Regions from separate parts of the Homo sapiens genome. Here region 1 is linked to region 2. Evidence: promoter capture Hi-C in human tissues and cell types (Jung and others, 2019). All regions are on one chromosome and are shown on one strand. Each heading gives the region's core, a stretch centred on a gene start or on the middle of the fragment in contact. The rest is flanking DNA. Distances are from core to core; before and after follow the strand shown. Region 1 has its middle 410 kb from the start of LINC03075. Region 2 holds the start of ZNF736 (zinc finger protein 736).

Evidence for each region. The method cuts DNA at HindIII sites, captures the fragments that hold promoters and counts their contacts. A contact is called where the count stands out against the background at its distance.
Region 1: a contact is called between a fragment that was not itself captured here and the fragment with the promoter of ZNF736 in region 2, in 1 of the 25 tissues and cell types used here (mesendoderm cells).

What each region holds. Positions count from the first base shown.
Region 1 is chr7:62,937,797-62,941,885 of GRCh38, forward strand. No RefSeq gene overlaps it. Among named protein-coding and RNA genes, the nearest start is that of LINC03075, 410 kb to the right of the region's middle. The HindIII fragment of the contact is 3,503 bases long and covers 1-3,014 here.
Region 2 is chr7:64,312,494-64,316,703 of GRCh38, forward strand. It overlaps ZNF736 (zinc finger protein 736), which reads left to right and starts at 1,468. Exons shown (of 4, transcript NM_001170905.3): 1 at 1,468-1,660. The coding sequence starts at 1,658. RefSeq lists an enhancer at 1,521-1,700. The HindIII fragment of the contact is 17,485 bases long and covers 1-3,718 here.

The DNA.
Region 1 (4,089 bases), core at 13-2,512, 1.4 Mb before region 2:
TAAATATCCCTCCACAGATTCTGCCAAAATGGTGTTTCCAGACTGCTGTATGAAAAGAAAGTTTGTCTCTGAGAGATGAATGCACACATCACAAAGCAATTCCTCAGCTAGGTTCCTTCTAGTTTTAATCCTGGGGTATTCACTTTTTTGCCTTTGACCTCAATGAGTTTCCAAATGTCCATTCACAGAATGGACAAAAACAGTGTTTGCAAACTGCTAATTCCACAGAAATGTTTACTATTGTGCAATGAAGGGAACATCACAAAACAGTTTCTCACAAAGCTTCTTTCTAGTTTTTATCAGAAGATATTTCTTTTTTCACCATATGCCTCAATGTGTTCACAAATATACCTTCAGAGATTCTACGAAAACTATGTTTCCAAACTGCTGAAAAAAAGAAAGGTTTAAATCTACCAGATGAATGCACACATCACATAGCAGTTTCTCAGATCACTTCCTTCTAGTTTTGATCCTAGGATATTCGATTTTTTGAAATTGGCCTCAATGAGCTCCCAAATCTCCACTTGCAGAATGGACAAAAACAGTGTTTGCAAATTGCTGATTCCACAGAAATGTTTAATTCTGTGAGATGAATGCACACATCACAAAGCCATTTCTCAGAAAGCTCCTTTCTAGTTTTTATCTGAAGATATTTCCCTTTTCACCATAAGCCTCATTGTACCCCAAGATATCACCATGCAGATTCCACAAAAACAGTGTTTTCAAACTGCTGAATGAAAAAGAAAGGTTTAACTCTCCAAGATGAATGCACACATCACAAAACAGTTTCTCACAAATCTTCTTTCTTGTTTCTATCTGAAGATATTTCCTTTTTCACCTTAGGCCTCAATGCATTCCCAAACATCCCTTCATGGACTCTGCCAAAACAGTGTTTCCACACTGCTGAATGAAAAGAAAGTTTTAACTCTGCGAGGTTCCCATCAAAAAGTGGTTTCTCAGATAGCTTCCTTTTAGTTTTGACCCTGGGATATTTGCTTTTTCACCATTTGTCTCAGTGAGCTCTCAAATATCCCTTCACAGATTCTACAAGAGTGTTTCCAAACTGATAAATCCAAAGAAATGTTTAGCTCTGTGAGATGAATGCACACATCACAAAGCAGATTCTCAGAAAGCTTCTTTCTAGATTTTATCTGAACATATTTCCTTTTTAACCATAGGCCTCTATGTTCTCCCAAATATCCTTTTGAAGATTCTGCCAAATCAGTGTTTCCAAAGTGAAATGAAAAGAAAGATTTATCTCTGTGAGGGGAATCCACACATCACAAAGTGATTTCTCAGAAAGCTTCTTTCTAGTTTTTATCTGAAGATATTTCCTTTTTCACCATACGCTTCAAAGCACTGCCAGATATCCCTTTGCAGAGTCTACAAAAACAGTGTTTCCAAAGTCCTCAATGAAAAGAAAGGTTTAACTCTGTGAGAAGAATCCATACAACACAAAGTGGTTTCTCAATAGCTTCTCTCTATTTTTTATCCTGGGATATTCCTTTTTTGCCATTGGCCTCAATGAGCTTCCAAATGTCCATTTTCAGAATGGACAAAAAACAGTGTTTGCAAACTGCTGAATCCACAGAAAGTTTGAACTCTCTGAGATGAATGCACATATAACAAAGCAGTTCTCAGAAATCTTATTTCTAATTTTTATCTGAAGATATTTCCTTTTTCACCACAGAACTCAATGCACTTGCAAATATAACTTTGCACTTTCTACAACAACAGTGTATACATACTGCTGAATGAAAAGAATTGTTTAAGTCATAGAGTTGAATGCACACATCACAAAGTGGATTCTCAGGTAGTCTCCTTCTAGTTTTTTTCCTGGGATATGTAACTTTTCGAATTTGGCCTCAATGAGGTTCCAAATATCCTTCCCAGATTCTACAACAACAGTGTTTCCAAAATGTTGAATCCAAAGAAATGTTTATAGTTTATTTGAAGATATTTCCTTTTTCACCATAGGCCTCAATGAACTCCCAAATATAACTTTGCAGATTCTATGACAACAGTGTTTACAAATTGCTGAATTAAAAGGATGGTTTAAATCTGAGACATGAATGCACACATCAGAAAATTCTTTTTCAGATACCTTCCTTCTAGTTTTTATCCTCGGATATTCACTTTTTCTTCACTGACCTCAATGAGCTCCCAAATGTCCATTCGTAGAATGTGCAAAAACAGTCTTTGCAAACTGTTGAATCCAGAGAAAGGTTTCACTCTGTGGGATGAATGCACACATGACAAAGCAGTTTCTCAGAAAGCTTCTTTCTAGTTTTTATCTGAAGTTATTCCTTTTCCAGAATGGGCCTCAACGTGCTCCCAAATATAACTTCACAGATTCTACAACAGTTTTTCCAAACTGCTGAATGAAAAGAATAGTTTACCTCTGATATTTGAATGCACACGTCGCAAAGCTGTTTCTCACATATCTTCCTTTTATTTTTTTAACCTGGGATACTCACCTTTTCACCTTTGGCTGCAATGAGCTACCACATATCTCTTTGCAGATTCTACAATAACAGTTTACCCAAACTGCTGAATCTGCAGAAAGGTTAAACTCTGTCAGCTGAATGCACACATCACAAAGCAGTTTCTCAGAATTCTTTCTAGTTTCTATCTGAAGATATTTCCTTTTTCACCAAAGACCTGAATGCGCTCCCAAATATCCTTTTGTGGATTCTGCCAAAACAGTGTTTCTAGACAGCTGAATGAAAAGAAAGATTTATCTCTGTGATGTGAATGCTCATGTCACAAACTGGCTTCTTTATATCTTCCTTCTAGCTTTTATCCTGGGATATTCCCTTTTATGACATTGGCCTCAATTAGCTCCAAAATGTCCATTCACAGAATGGATAAAAACAGTGTTTGCAAACTACTGAATCCACTGAAAGTTTCATCTCTGTGAGATGAATACACACATCACAAAGCAGCTTTTCAGAATGTTTCTTTCTAGCTTTTATCTGAAGATATTTCCTTTTTCACCATAGGCCTCAATGCGCTCCAAATTATAACTTTGCAGATTCTACAAAAACAGTATTTCCAAATTGCTGAATGAATAGAGAGATTTAACTCTGTGAGAAAAATGCACATTTCAAAAAGCTATTTCTTAAATAGCTTCCCTCTAGTTTTTATCCTGGGATATTTGTTTTTTCTCCATTGGCCTCCATGAACTTCCAAATATCCCTTCACAAATTCTACAACAACAGTGGTTTCAAACTGCTGAATTAAAAGAAAGGTTTAACTCTGTGAGGTGAATGCACACATCACAAAGCTGTTTCTCAAATATCTTTTATCCTGGGATATTTGCTTTTTTGACTTTGGCTTCAATGAGCTCACAAATGTCCATTTGCAGAATAGACAAAAAGAGCATTTGCACACTGCTGAATCCACAGAAATGTTCGCCTCTGTGTGATGAATGTACACATTACAAAAGCAGTTTCTAAGAAATCTTCTTTCTAGTTTGTATCTGAAGATATTTCCTTTGTCATCATAGGCCTCAATGCACTCCCAAATACATCTTCACAGATTCTATAAAAACAGTGTTTACAAACAGCTGAATGAAAAGAAAGTTTTAACTCTGTGAGATCAATGCACATCACAAAGCCCTTTCTCGAATAGCTTCCTTCTAGTTTTTACCCTGAGATATTTGCTTTATCACTATTGGCCTAAATGGGTCCCACAGGTGCATTCACAGAATGGACAAAAACAGTGTTTCCAACCTGCTGAATAAAATAAAGCTTTAACTCTGTGAGATGAATACACAGATCACAAAGCAGATTCTCAGAAAGATTATTTCTATTTTTTTCTAAAATATTTTTTCTCCATAGGCTTGAAAGCACCCCCAAATATTGCTTCACAGATTCAAATTGTCCCTGTTTGCAGATGACATGATTGTGTATCTAGAAAACCCCATCTCAGCCCAAAATCTCCTTAAGCTGATAGGCAACTTCAGCAAAGTCTCAGGATACAAAATCAATATGCAAAAATCACAAGCATACTTATACACCAAAAACAGACAAACAGAGAGCAAAACCATGAGTGAACTCCCATTCACAATGGCTTCAAAGAGAATAA
Region 2 (4,210 bases), core at 218-2,717:
CTCCCTTATTAACTCTGTGGTGAGATTTTAACAAGTCACAATGTTATGTGGTCCCTAGCTCCACCGTTTCCCAAATCCACTCAGCCCAGCTCTTCCAGGCCTTTACTCTGATTTCTCTTATAGAGGCATTTCAGGGACTGTTGCCACAGGAGGGAAGGGCTGAGGGAGAAAGGCCCCTTGCTCTTTTGATGTGGAGGCCTCCAGCTGGGAGGGAGGAGCTCTTCCCTCTGAATCCCTGGAGCTCTTCCCCATCACAGGTACCTGCCTTTTTGCTGCTTTAGCCTCATCTGGGCTTTCTGTGGTTTCTTCTCTAGGGTGGCCAACTTGGGTGTCTTCCTCTGCCAGGGTCAAGGACAAGGTCAGTGATATTATGCTCCCTTCACCCAGTTATGCCCAGTTACATTGACCTGGTACCCTGGATAACTGGTGTGAGTCAAGCTGGTCCAGTGCTCCTGCCACCTCCAGTAAACTCTGATTCTAGATTCACTCCCTGCTGCAACACTCACTGTGTGTGGAACCTTGGGCATGCAGCCAGGCCTCCCTGAGACTGTTTCTCAACTTGAAAGTGTGATGGGAACCACACCTACCTCACTGGGCCTCGTGAGGACTCAGTTATATGTAGCCGTCACCATTGTTCTCATCATCATCTCTCTCAGGAAGAGCCAGGCACAAGCACTCTCAAATTTTTCTCCTTTGAAGCTCCTCATTACCCTGTGAGGCTCATCATCCCTACATTTTTTAGATAAGAAAACAGAGGCCCAAAGAGGGCAGTGACTTGCCCAGGGCTCTACAGAAGAGGCCGGCTCCTCCCCACACCTGGAGGCCCTGACCTAGCTGACTTTACCCCACAGCCCAGCACTATCCCTGACTAGGGTCCCATCTTGGTTCTCCATGCTTGTTTAGGTCCTCAGGCAGGCTCAGCTTTGGTGGGAAAGAGACAGGGTGTTTTGGGAGGCCTGGGCGAGTGGCACCTCTAACCAATCTGCTAGGCCCTCACCTCTCAGTCTCACTGAGACACTCCATTAATTGGAAGCAGACCCAAAATTGCTTCACAGACTGAAGGTGATAATTGTCTACAGCCAGCTGAAGCAGCTGCATCTCCTGGAGGACTTTGATCTCCTGCAGCTAAAGGGAAAGACAGGATGCTGAGACAGGGCCTGCAGCATACACATAACTATAATTCAGAATGTAATATATACACACACACGAAAATATAATCAGAAAGTGATATAATCTTATATGCAAGGTTAAATACAAATGTCTCTCAGGCAGGGCCAGGCCCCCAGCACAGGGAGGACTCGCCTGAAAACGCTGCAGGCAAAAACCTGTCACCCTTGCCTCATTCAGCCCAGTGTCTGATTACATCTTCTGTCACTTAGGATTGAAACGGGTGGGGCCTGGAGCCCTAGCCAATCAGTGGCGCCAGCGTGAAACTGTCCAATCAAGTGCGCAGCTACAGAGGAAGAGGCGGCCTCTTCAATATGGCGGGGCCTTTGTCTCCTAGCTTCCGGGCTCTGATCCTAGTTCGCGTCTCCACTGTTCCATCTCCTCCGTTCCTGGAGTTCCTCGGTGACTCTACTATAGCTTCTGTTATCCTGTGACCTGCAGGTACTGGGAGATCCATAGGGAGGACGGCGGAACATCTGGAGGCTGGGAAATGGTGAGTGCGTGGAGTGGGTGTCCCGAGAATGGGGAAGAGGCTGTTTGAATCCGGCCGGAACCGGCTGCGGTGGTATCTGGGCCTTCTCGCGGTCTGCTCTGGAGTCTGCATCCCCGAGTCCCCGCGGGCACAGCTCAATCCTCATTTCCCTCCATCGCAGATTAGGGGCTGAGCCAGCAGCCAAAACGCTACGTCTTGTTTTGTCCCTAAACTCGAATTTCTCCCCAGCTCAGATCCCTTCCTGGGCAGCTCTGTGCCGCAACCTCGAGTCTCCCTCCTCCAGATTGTGTGGGGGTGTTGGGAGTGTCATAAGACGGGAATTCTCATTTAGGGTCTGGAGTTCCTCCGTGGAAGAAGCAGTGGGCCGTGGGGTCCCTAGTCCCTCCTTTCTCCTTTTAAAAATAAAATCATGGCCCTTTTTTAAATTTATTTATTTTTGAGACAGTGTCTCACTCTGTTGCCCAGGCTAAAGTGCATTTCGGTTCACTGCAGCCTCCACCTACTGGGCTCAGATGATCCTCTCACCCCAGCCCCCCAAGTAGCTAGGACTAGAGGGGTGCGCCACCACGCCTATTTTGTTTTGTTTGTTTTTGTAGAGACAGGCTTTTGCCATGTTGCTCAGGCTGGTCTCGAACTCCCCGAGCTCAGGTCTCAGGTGATCCGCCCGCCTCGGGCCTCCTAAAGTGCCGGGATTACGTGCATGACCCACCACCCTAGCCTAAATTGAGGCAACTTTAGGATATAATTTGGATGTGTTTTCCAGCCCAAATCTCCTATTTAAATGTAATCCCCCATGTTGGAGGTGGGGCCTGGTGGAAGGATTGTGGGCCCGGATTTCTCACGAATAGTTTAGCACCATTCCTCTTGGTATTGTCCTCTCAATAGTGAGTGAGTTCCCTGAAGTTCATCATTTAGAAGTGTACAGCACCCCACCTTGCCTCTTTTTCAAGCTCTTGCTTCACCTTCATCCATGATTTTAAGCTTTCTGGGTGGGGCCTCCCCAGAAGCAGACGCTGGTGTTATGCTTTCTATGCAGCCTGTGGAACCATGAGCCAATTAATCCTCTTATAAATTACCCAGTCTGAGGTATTTATAGTAATGCCAGAAGCGATTAATACAAATAGTTTACTTGCACAAACAGTAATTTATCAATCAGAGAACACCCAGCTATGATTTGTTGTTTGGGGGCTCAAAGGAGGGTCTTGGAACAAAAGGTTGTTTTTTTTTTTTAAGAGGTATGAGGAAGCAAACCAGATTCAATATTTGATTGGTTACAGTTACGTATTGCATTTGCAGCCCTCCGGTGGAAATGTCCTGGTTATGTAATTAGAGCTTTTTATTGGCAGCTTGTGGTTGGTTAAGCCTAAGTTGTTTTGTTGTTGTTGTTGTTGTTTCTCAAAGTTAATAATTTACCAGAAATTCCTTCGACGTAGTTAGGTTTCCTTAGGCAGAATCCCAGGGCACCATGGCCACTTCAGCCTAATTGCTAGCTATTTAATTATTTTAATGCTCCACAGGGTCGTTGGTTTTCTCTGCATTTTTCAAATGTTTGGCAAGCAGGGTCTCAAATCTAAAACTGTTCTCCCAGCCTAACTGTTCTAGGGACTGTATAAAATTCTAAATTTCCAATTTCTTTCCCACATTCCCAAATGCCAACTATCCCTCTCCAAATCACATTATGAACTATCAGTTCTTTATTTAATTTTAAAACGGATGTGGCATTTTGTTTATTTTTGTTTAACAGAGCCGTGGGTGGCTCTTTTTAATATATTAGTCTGTTTGTGCATATTTCACAGGACAGAAAAGCAAAGAGTAGTCACCTGACACTGCGCATCTCCTCTCATCTTCTCTAGGCACGCGCGCCTTCCCAGAATGTCTTTGGATCCTTTGCAGGGTGATGTGTCCTCAGTCACTCTCCTGTGTTTTCCTGGTCCAAGTATTACAGCTTTCTGGGGATGATCCAAGATACCCACAAGGACCATATCTCTTGGAGTGTCTAGCAAACATTAGCCCCTGGGTCATCTCCTTTCAGAGAAGAGCCTGAGGCATTGGGTGGAGCCTCTCAGGGGAGCAGCTGGATGCCCTCGTGCTGAGAGCAGTTTCCTGATTCACCCTTCCTCTAAAAAGCTAACTGCTTTAACATTAAGATTTTTTTCCCCTCAATCCTAGTTTTCATTTCTTGCAGACACATTGGTGGTCAACCAATCAGGTGCTGATATTGAGGGGAAAAGGCACAAATGCATCTTGCCCTCTGGTTTCTCTCAGGCTTGTGAAGGAGAATAACTGTCCCAAAGTACAGGAAAGATCCACTCTAGTGAGGGAGTGTATAAATTTGCAAAGCAAAATACACATCTGCCACACAGGGGGCAAGTGCAGTATCTTTTGGGAGAGTGATGATCAAGTACTTTAGTGAGCAGAATGGGGGTGGGAGAATCTCTCAAGTGATTGACACATGAGTCTAAAACATTTGTGTTCCAGTCAGCACTACTTCTCCCTGTGTTTGTCACCTTCAATATATATGTTCAGTTATTTCAACTTCAGTTTTTCATT